2 separate regions of the Homo sapiens genome follow, and region 2 is linked to region 1. The links are contacts of gene promoters, found by promoter capture Hi-C in human tissues and cell types (Jung and others, 2019). All regions are on one chromosome and are shown on one strand. The core of a region is centred on a gene start or on the middle of the fragment in contact, and the rest is flanking DNA. Distances in the headings are between cores, read along the strand shown. Region 1 holds the start of MRPL21 (mitochondrial ribosomal protein L21). Region 2 has its middle 29 kb from the start of GAL.

Evidence for each region. Contacts are between HindIII fragments. The study calls those that stand out against the background at their distance.
Region 2: a contact is called between a fragment that was not itself captured here and the fragment with the promoter of MRPL21 in region 1, in 1 of the 25 tissues and cell types used here (IMR-90 fibroblasts).

What each region holds. Positions count from the first base shown.
Region 1 is chr11:68,901,390-68,905,845 of GRCh38, reverse strand. MRPL21 (mitochondrial ribosomal protein L21) reads left to right here and starts at 2,014. Exons shown (of 7, transcript NM_181514.2): 1 at 2,014-2,123. The coding sequence starts at 2,036. IGHMBP2 (immunoglobulin mu DNA binding protein 2) reads right to left here and starts at 1,955. Exons shown (of 15, transcript NM_002180.3): 1 at 1,808-1,955. The coding sequence starts at 1,893. RefSeq lists enhancers at 1,473-1,532, 1,863-1,982, 1,414-2,141. The HindIII fragment of the contact is 6,843 bases long and covers 1-4,456 here.
Region 2 is chr11:68,652,948-68,657,715 of GRCh38, reverse strand. No RefSeq gene overlaps it. Among named protein-coding and RNA genes, the nearest start is that of GAL, 29 kb to the left of the region's middle. The HindIII fragment of the contact is 5,786 bases long and covers 1-4,768 here.

The sequences.
Region 1 (4,456 bases), core at 765-3,264:
TTCAATCAGCATTCCCCTCTCTCCTCCCATCTGTCACTAAGTCCTATCAGGCCCCTCCCATTTCTACCTGGACTTCTCTGCCTCTCATCCTGGCTGCCACAGCCCCGGTTCAAATCCACATCACTGCTCACCTGGACTAAACAGAGCCTCTCAACTACCTTACCTCTGGCCTCTCCACGTCCAATCAAAAGCAGGAGACCCAAGAAATCCTCCTAAAATGCAAAGCTATTCGCCTCCCTCACCTGCTTAACCCCGCTGATGGCCCATCCTTCATACACAGAACAGAAGACTAGCTCCTTAGCCAGGCCCTTCCCAGGCTCGCCCTGCCAGTCTGCTCAGCATCCTCAGAAAGAGCCACTGCCATGGGGGCTGACTCTGTCCTTGGCACCACGCTGAGCACCTGACTGACAGGGGATCGTTTCATTCTCAGAGCAAGCCTGTGAGGTGGGAATCATCCCAGTTTTACAGATGAAGTAAGTAAGGCTCAGAGACAGAACCTGCAAAGTCACACAGCCATAAATGAAACAGCTGGGATTCTAAGAAACTCAACATAACTGCAAAAGCTCTCCATTGCCATGATCAAAAGCATCTCAGACAAATCCTACCCACATATGGCTGACTGCAAACTCTGGAAGCAGACTGCCTGACAGCAAATCGGGCTACACTGTGTCACCCCGGGGCAAGTTACTTAACCCCTCTCTGTCTCCATCTCCTTAGACGGAAAATGACAGTAACAGAAACCTACACTGCGGCCGGGCACGGTGGCTCACGCCTGTAATCCCAACACTTTGGGAGGCCAAGGCGGGCAGACCACGAGGTCAGGAGATCGAGACCATCCTGGCCAACATGGTGAAACCCTGTCTCTACTAAAAATACAAAAAATTAGCAGGACGTGGTGGCGCGCCTGTAGTCCCAGCCACTCAGGAGGCTGAGGCAGGAGAATCGCTTGAACCCGGGAGATGGAAGCTGCAGTAAGCCGAGATCGTGCCACTGCACTCCAGCCTGGGCGACAGAGAGAGACTCTGTCTAAAAAAAAAAAAAAGAAAAAGAAAAAAAAGAAACTTACACTGTAGGGTTGGCATGGGATGAGGTGTAAAAGAATTAACGCATGGAAAGTACGTAAGTGTTAGCTCTGATTGTTTTGGACAAGTAAATAGTCCCATTCGGAAACAAGCCCGGCTCTCACATGGCTCCCCACACCTCTCAGGACGGCTCCCCACCCTACTCCGCACCCACCAGCTTAACTCCAATTTTCCTTCAGGCACCACTCCCTCCTTGAAGCCACCATGACCCTCCCCAGGGAAGGGCCTTCCTCCTCCAGGCTCTTTCCCCGCGACACGCACGCAGCCGGCCCTGGACGCACTGGAGGGGAAGGGACTCTCTGCTTATGCCCAGCCCGCCGCTGGCCGGATCGGGGGCAGCCAGTGCACCTGACTCATGCTGCCGGGGCCTGACTGAGAATGGGCGCAAACCATGTTTACTGAATGAATAAGGGAAAGGGCTGCTAACTCGCTGCGGGTGGAACTGGGGTCGGGGCCAGGGCCCAGGAGTGTAAGCTTAGTGGGGGGTCTCGGGTCGGGAAATCAAAGTGCTTCTTAAGGGTCCCCAAACGGAACGCGCTGCCCAGGAAGTGATGAGACTGACAACTCGGGAGGTGGCCAAGCAGGGGACGGACGATCCCTGCCCCTGACTCGAAGGGTCGGAGACGAAATTCCCGCCCCAGACTATGAGGCCGAGCCCCTCGGAGACTCTGCCCGGGACACGGCGGGACCGACCGCGAGGGAGCGGCGCCGGCGGCCTCCCGTACCTGCGCTCCTCCACCTCCGCGTCTCTCTCAAGCTCCAGCAGGTCCAGTTGCTTGGTCACGAAGCTCTCCACAGCTGCCGAGGCCATCGCCGCCGCCGGCCTGGGCCCCTAGAAGCCGACGTCCCGCTTCTGCGCCGGGCCGGTGTTACAGCGGACCGGTGTTCCCCGCCGGGCCCGTGCGTTACGCACGCGGTTCGCGTCGTTTCCGTTTCCGGCCGAGGCTGCGGCCATGGCAGCATCTTCCCTGACGGTCACCTTAGGGCGGCTGGCGTCCGCGTGCAGCCACAGCATCCTGAGACCTTCGGGGCCCGGAGCAGGTGAGACCTGGGATATGGGAGGAAGGGAGGACGCAGAGCGAGCGCTGCTCCCTGCGGTCTCGCCACGTATGTGCCTGGGTCCGACCTGGTGCCTTGTGTGTTGATCGCATTTGTGGTGAATATAGCACGGGTTTTGGAGTCGGGGGAACCCAGGTTCAGATTTTGATTCCTTCAGTTAGTAGCCTGAATACTGACAATAGCCCTTGAACTTTGGTATAGGCCCTATGTTATGGGGGAGAAGAGTGAGGCTCAGAGGAGCTAGGTAACGTGCCCAGGGTCACACAGCGGGGAAGTGGAAGAAGAGTACTTCAGGCGCAGTCATTTCGGCTCCAAAGCCTGTGCTTGAACCACTGCCCCCAGGCTGCGAGCTGGTCTGAAAAATGGTGATGGATATCCTCGCCTAATCTGAACTCATTCTGCAAAAGAAACAGCCGTATTTAAGGCGCTGGGCTGATACGAGGCTCCAAAAAGGTTATGTCCGTTAAAAACTCTATAAATCTCTGCTTGAAAATGGTTGGAGTGTGTATTTGTGTGCATGAGTGTTTATGTATGTTTTAAACCTGGGTTTCATGTCTCACCATGACCCCCAAAAATGGAAAACTGGATCTAACTCTATATTGGACGATATTAAAAGAATAGTACCATAATTCCCAAAACTTGGAAGCAACCCAGATGTCCTTCAGGAGATGAATGGTTACATAAACTGTAGGACATCCATACAGTAGAATATTATGCAGCAATAAAAAGAAATGAGTCATGAAGAGACATGGAGGAAACTTACATACATGTTACTAAGTAAAAGAAGCCAACCTGAAAAGGGGACATCTTGTATGTTTCCCACTATGACATTCTGGAAAAGGCAAATCTAAGGAGACAGTAAAAAGTTACATGGGGGGTAAGAGGATTGGGGGAGAAAAGGATAAATAGGTGGAGCTCAGAGGATTTTTAGGGCAGTGAAACTATTCTGTATGATATAATGGTAGATACATGTCATTATAAGTTTGTCCAAATCCATAGAATGTACACTACCAAGGGTGAACCCCTAATGTAGACTATGGACTTTGGATAACAATGATGTGTCAATGTAGGTTCATCAATTGTAAAGATTGTACCACTCTGGTGAGGGATGTTGATAGGAAGCTGTGGGCACATGGACAGGGGACATATGGGAACTCTCTGTACCTTCCACTCAATTTTGGTGTGAAACTAAAACTGTGCTAAAAAATAAAGTCTATTAAGAAATTAATAATAATCACAGAGTTGGGCCAGAGGCAATGTAGATGCCAAAATTGGCCATGAGTTGGTAACTGTTGAACCTGGAAAGGGATAATTGAGAGAGTTCACTATTCTGTTCTCTTTACTTTTGTATGCTTGACATTTTCCATAATAAAACTTAGGTTTAAGTAGGCAGGAAAGTTTTTACAAAAGCAGTGGGACTTACTCCATTCTACCTACCTACATGAAACCACCCCTCCAATGCTATGTTCAAGTACAGACTCACGCATTAGGAGAGAAAGACACACAGTGAAGCGAGTAGAGACAAGGTGACCAAAACAGTGAGCAGCTGGGGCCTTGAAGAGTGAGCAAAGGAGACGTGATGGAAGTACACAGTCACAGTCTCTAGGACTACCTAAAGGAAATCCTGTGGGAGAGGAAGGAGACTGTTTGTTCCCTGGGGACCCAAAAACAAAGCTAGAAGCAAATTAGGTACAGAAGCCTGCTAAGTTTTTAATAGTGGGATGGATTTGCCAATGGGTTGACTGAGTAGTGTGCGAGAGAAGAGTCAAAACTGATGGAGGTTTGGGGCCTGAGCAACTGGGAGGATGAAGTTGCCCTCATGTGAGAGGGAGGAGTGTGGGAGAAGCAGGCATGGGAAGAAATGAGGAGCCTCTGGAGGTGTGAGGTGCTCGTCAGACACGAGTGGCTAAGGCAGATAGATAGGTGGGTATGCAAAACCAGGAGAGAAGCCCTGGCTGGAGGTGTAAACTTGGGAGTCACCAGCACATTGGGGGTGTTTAAATCCATCGGACTGGATGCAGTCACCAGAGGAATGGCCATGGGCGGAGAGGAGGTCAAGGCCAAGGGTTGAGCCCCGGATGCCCAAATGGGAGAGGAGAGGAGAAAGCAGCCGAGGAGATGCAAATGGGGAGCTGGTGCTAATGGGTGAACTTTAAAAAGGTGGTTTTTATGGTGTGTAAATTATAGCTGAGTTTCTTTAAAAGTGGTTATTGAGAAACTGTTCTCTGCTTTTTACACCTAAGCACTTATTTTGATCCCCTGTCTTCTCAGTAGATTGAATGTCTTTGTTTCCTGGTGTATTCCTGGTGTATGCG
Region 2 (4,768 bases), core at 1,068-3,567, 250 kb after region 1:
CCTGCTGGCCAGTGGGAGCTACTGATGGTCTCAGAGGTGTGGCTCAGCCTGCCTGGCTGAACCCACTGCGCGTCAGGGATGTGCCTGGACTCTGCAACCCACATCTCACCATGAGGTGGCCGCTGCAGCTCGGGGCTTGTTCACCCCACTGCCGGCTCTGGGAGAGGAGGTGCTTGTGCCCTTGTCCTGAGGTCCAACTGTGTGGAGGGAGGGTCTCTGGGGCCCATCCTAGGGAGGGTCCCAGTGGCACATAATCCTGGGCACCTCCAGCCTCTGGCCCATCCTCCAGCAGGCAGACCACATGGAGAGGGTCCCCTCTCTGACAACCAGCCGTGAGCAGGGCCCCTGACAGCTGCCCCCAGCCTCCCACTGGGGGGTTTCAGAGCCACATTCCCTGCCCCTGACTTAGCAGGATGGGGCCTGGCCCCTTGAGGTCCTCCCAGGAGATTCTCATGATGAGCTCTGCCAGGGAAGCCCTGTTCCAGGGGTCCTGGAGGAAGGGAAAGGGTCCTACAGCCAGCGCAGGTCACAGTGCTAAGAGACGGACCCAGAGGGCCAGAACGGAGGCCCCCTGGGGAAGGCTGGGTGAACTAAGCAGAGCTCTAAAGGCTGGCAATTTCCCTGGAGGCTGAGAGACCTCAATTTTTAGAGCCCCTCTCTTGCACACACCCCTTCTGGGAGGGTCCCAGCAGCATCCACACAGTCATTTAAAATTTGCGGAAGTTGGCCGGGCATGGTGGCTCACACCTGTAATCCCAGCACTTTGGGAGGCCAAGGCAGGCAGAACATGAGGTCAGGAGATTGAGACTATCCTGGCCAACATGGTGAAACCCCATCTCTATCAAAAATACAAAAATTAGCTGGGCGTGGTGGCGTGCACCTGTAGTCCCAGCTATTCAGGAGGCTGAGGCAGAAGAATCACTTTAACCCGGGAGGCAGAGGTTGCAGTGAGCAGAGATCGTGCCACTGCACTCCAGCCTGGCAACAGAGCGAGACTCCATCTCAAAAAACAAAAATTGCAGAAGTCAGACGCTTTGTTCAGTCGGTGAGGACTGTAGGCTGGCTGCGCTCTGGAGTTCAGGTCCCCTCTGCTGCAGTGGTACTAGGGGCTGTAAACATTTGTGGGATCTGGCTGAGGGGAGGTTGAGCTGGGGACACCTTTAGTGTGGATTGGGTGGGTGGGTGAGATTTTTTTGTGGCTATTGTAACAAATGACCGCAAATTGGGTGGCTTAAAACAACAGACATTTATTTTCCCACAGTCTGGAGGCCAGAAGTTCACAACCAGGGGGCCAGGGGTGAGGGTGTGTCCTGCCTTTTCCATCTTCTGCTGGTGGCAGTGCCTGGCACTCCATGGCGGTGGTGCCTCACTCCAGCCTCCACCTGTCCCCCTGGTCTTCTCCCCTCTGCGTGTCTGTGTATCTGTGTCTCTGTGTCCTAAATCCACATTTCCCTCTTAGAAGGACACAAGTCATGGATTTAGGACCCCCCCACCTACCACCACCACCCAATCTAACCTCATCTTAGCTTGATGACTTCTGCAAAGACCCCATTCCAAAGAAGGTCACATTCCCAGGCACTGGGGTTAGGCTTTGAGAGTTTTTTCCCGCCGTAAAACAATGCCCATTTATGATCTCGTCACTGCTGCAAGTCAGAAGTCTGGGTGCAGCAGGGCTCATCAGCCCTCAGCTTGTGTCTCACGTGTCTGAAACCCGGGGACGGGCCGGGCTGCGTTCCTTCCTGGAGGCCCAGTTGGTGAATCTGCTTCCAAGTTGATTCAGGTCATTGGCTGAGTTCAGTTCCATAGAGTTGCAGGGCTTGAACTTGTCCTCTTAGAGCATATAATTCAACTCACCACAGTGGGGTATATCTATGTGGTTCAAGGTCTCTTCTGGTGCAGTTAGTTTGCCACTGGTCCTCCCCACATGGGAATGTCTCTGTCTAGGGACAAGGTGCAAATTTGCTGGCTTGATGCAGAAAGGTGAGGCCTGATGTGGTATATGACCCATCCCACAGCATCCAGCTATGGAGGTAGGGGTGCCCAGGAACCTGGGTGATGGATGGAACTGAAGCTGGCCCATGGGAACGCCCTCTAATCAGCAGACATGTGGATGGTCAGCAGAGGGGCCGCCCCTGCTGCAGCCCAGTCAGACAAAAGCACTTTCCTGCCAGGAATACGCTCGCTCACGCAGATCATGGCCACAAACCCACTTTTGCACATTCTTTCCTTTTGTGATGGGAACTGAATAAAGCAAAACTCGTCACAATTCCTGTTTGCAGAACAAGGAACTGCAGCTCCCACTACAAACGAGCCCATCTGTGGACACTGACACACAAAAGAAACTCAGGAGAGGCTTTCCCGAATGATACCAATCCTAAGAATGTACACAACGTCACCAGCATTGGGTTGTGAAGCTTCAGGAACTTTCTCTACACCATCAATAATGAAAAGTAAATTCGTATCCATCGTGGAGGAGGAGAGGCCATATCATCTTTCTGTTCTCTCTGCAGAAAATCATAAAACAAAGTCCTTGTCCTATGAGAGATGAACAATGAGTACACACATTCGAAAATACCGGGGCACAGGTATTGTAGAGCGAGTCAGGTGACTAAGAAGAACTGTGATTTTTCCACATTTTGTAATGTTGATGACACTAATCAGCTTTTTAAAATCTGTAGTTTTCTGTGACTTCATTTCTCAGTCTAAGCGATACTCACTTCTATGCCTGTGTTTGTCTTAGTTATTTTATATTCTTTGTCTTTTTTCTTTTTTGTTTTTGACAGAGTCTTGCTCCATAGCCCAGGCTGGAGTGCAGCGGTGTGATCTCGGCTCACTGCAACCTCCGCCTCCCAGGTTCAAACAATTCTCCTGCCTCGACCTCCCAAGTAACTGGGATTATAAGAGTGCACCACCACGCCCGGCTAATTTTTGTATTTTTAGTAGAGGTGGGGGTTTTACCATGTTGGTCAGGCTGGCCTTGAACCCCTGACCTCAAGTGATCTGCCCGCCTGGGCCTCCGAAAGTGCTGGCATTACAGGCATAAGCCACTGTGCGCAGCCTATATTCTTATTCTTAAAGAGGCCCCCCAGATTATATAAGCTCAGACCCGGCAAACCTGGGTTTGGCCTGCCTGAAAGATGAGCTGGGCTTTCACAGAGGGTGTAGTGGGAAGTGGGGAGGGAAGTTGAGGGGCTGTGGGGGCTGGGGCCAGCGTGTGAGGAGGCTGAATGCGCCTGTGGTACTAGGGAGCCATGAAGGGTTTCTGGGGAGAGGCGTGACTTCTAGGACCCACGTCTTAGGCTTTTAGGGCTGATGCGTAGAGAGGCGCACCCCACCACCCATCCTCGGCCACCCCACCAGAGACCATGAGGCTGGGCGGCAGCATCTGCCCAGGCTGTCCAGGTGCCATTGGGGGACCCTCTTCTCTGCCATCACTGGCACCCACAGAAGCCTGCAGTGCCATTCCAGGACCTGAGCCAGGTGGCTTTGGACTCAGTGGCTGCAAGAGCCGGATATGGTTAGAGGCCTGGCCAGGGCATCTCCTGAGATGGCCCCTGGGCGCGGGGCTGGGCGTGACCAGGAGGGATTGGAGGTGCATCTTCAGTGGATGGTCTCTGCTTTTGTCCTTGTGGGGATCCCTCGCTCACACTCCTCCACAGCTGTGCCCTTGGTCCAGTGAGGGCAGCATGGAAACGGCACTTCACAGAGGGGGTCTGGAACAGAACTAGCATTGCCACATCTGCCAGTTTCAGGCTGCCCCAGAAGGGCGGAGACCCCTCCTCCTGGCCCCTTTCCAGGCTCACGCATCCAGTGTGTCCCAGGCCACCTGCGTGGGTGATGTCCCCAGTTCCAGCCACTCCCAGCCGCCCAGGGCCCTGCTCCTGCCTCCAGAGGCAGGCTGCACCCTGAGGTTTGGGAAGCCAGTGGGAGGCAGCACAGAGGTGCGCCCGAAGTCATCGCTCCACATGTGGCCCCACAAACGTGAGAACGTCGAAGGGCTTTGCTTTGCTACACTCACTCCTCCTTTACCCCACAAACTTTCATTGGTTGTGCCCTTGGGGATAGGCCTGAGCCAAGCACCTGATGACGGAGTTCCCAGGTGATCCCATCCTGGCCTGCAGAGCTGGGTAGGGAGAAGCTCTCTTCCCTGTTTGGGACACTGGTGTGATGCCTTTAGCTGTGCAGCCATCTTAAGACCATGCGGTCACACACACGAGGATGAGAGGCAATGTTCTGAAGATGACGGCTCCCCAGCACTGAGGACCCTGGCCCCTGCCTGCCCCCCTGGGAAGCAGAGCGAGTCACATCTGCCTTTATCACCTGCAGCAAAGCATCGGGACTGGTCCACAGGGATGCCTCTGAGACTCTAGGCTGGGGCATTAGAACGAGCTTTGTGCTCAGGGAGGATGAATGATGTCCACGCTGGGCTGTGGGGATGGAGGAGAGGAGTCTTTGGTAAAGGGGCTCACAGGCTAGTGGGGAGCAGAGGGACTGAGTACTCACAGCCAAGTGACAAGGTGACAAGTGTTTTGATGGGGTTAGGGCTCAGTGGGCTCAGCCCGCCCAGGCATTTAGCGAGGCCGAGGTATAGGGAGGGCCTCGGAAACCCTTCCCTGTGTGAGGAGTTTGATGCACAGGGTGCTGCCCCTGGACACGGGATGCTCAGGTGGCCTGCTCCAAACCGTGAGCCACCACCCAAGGACCCTGGCAGGCCTCCACCCCGTGTGGTGGCTGCAGGTCCTGCCAAGGCCCAAGGACACCCAAGGCC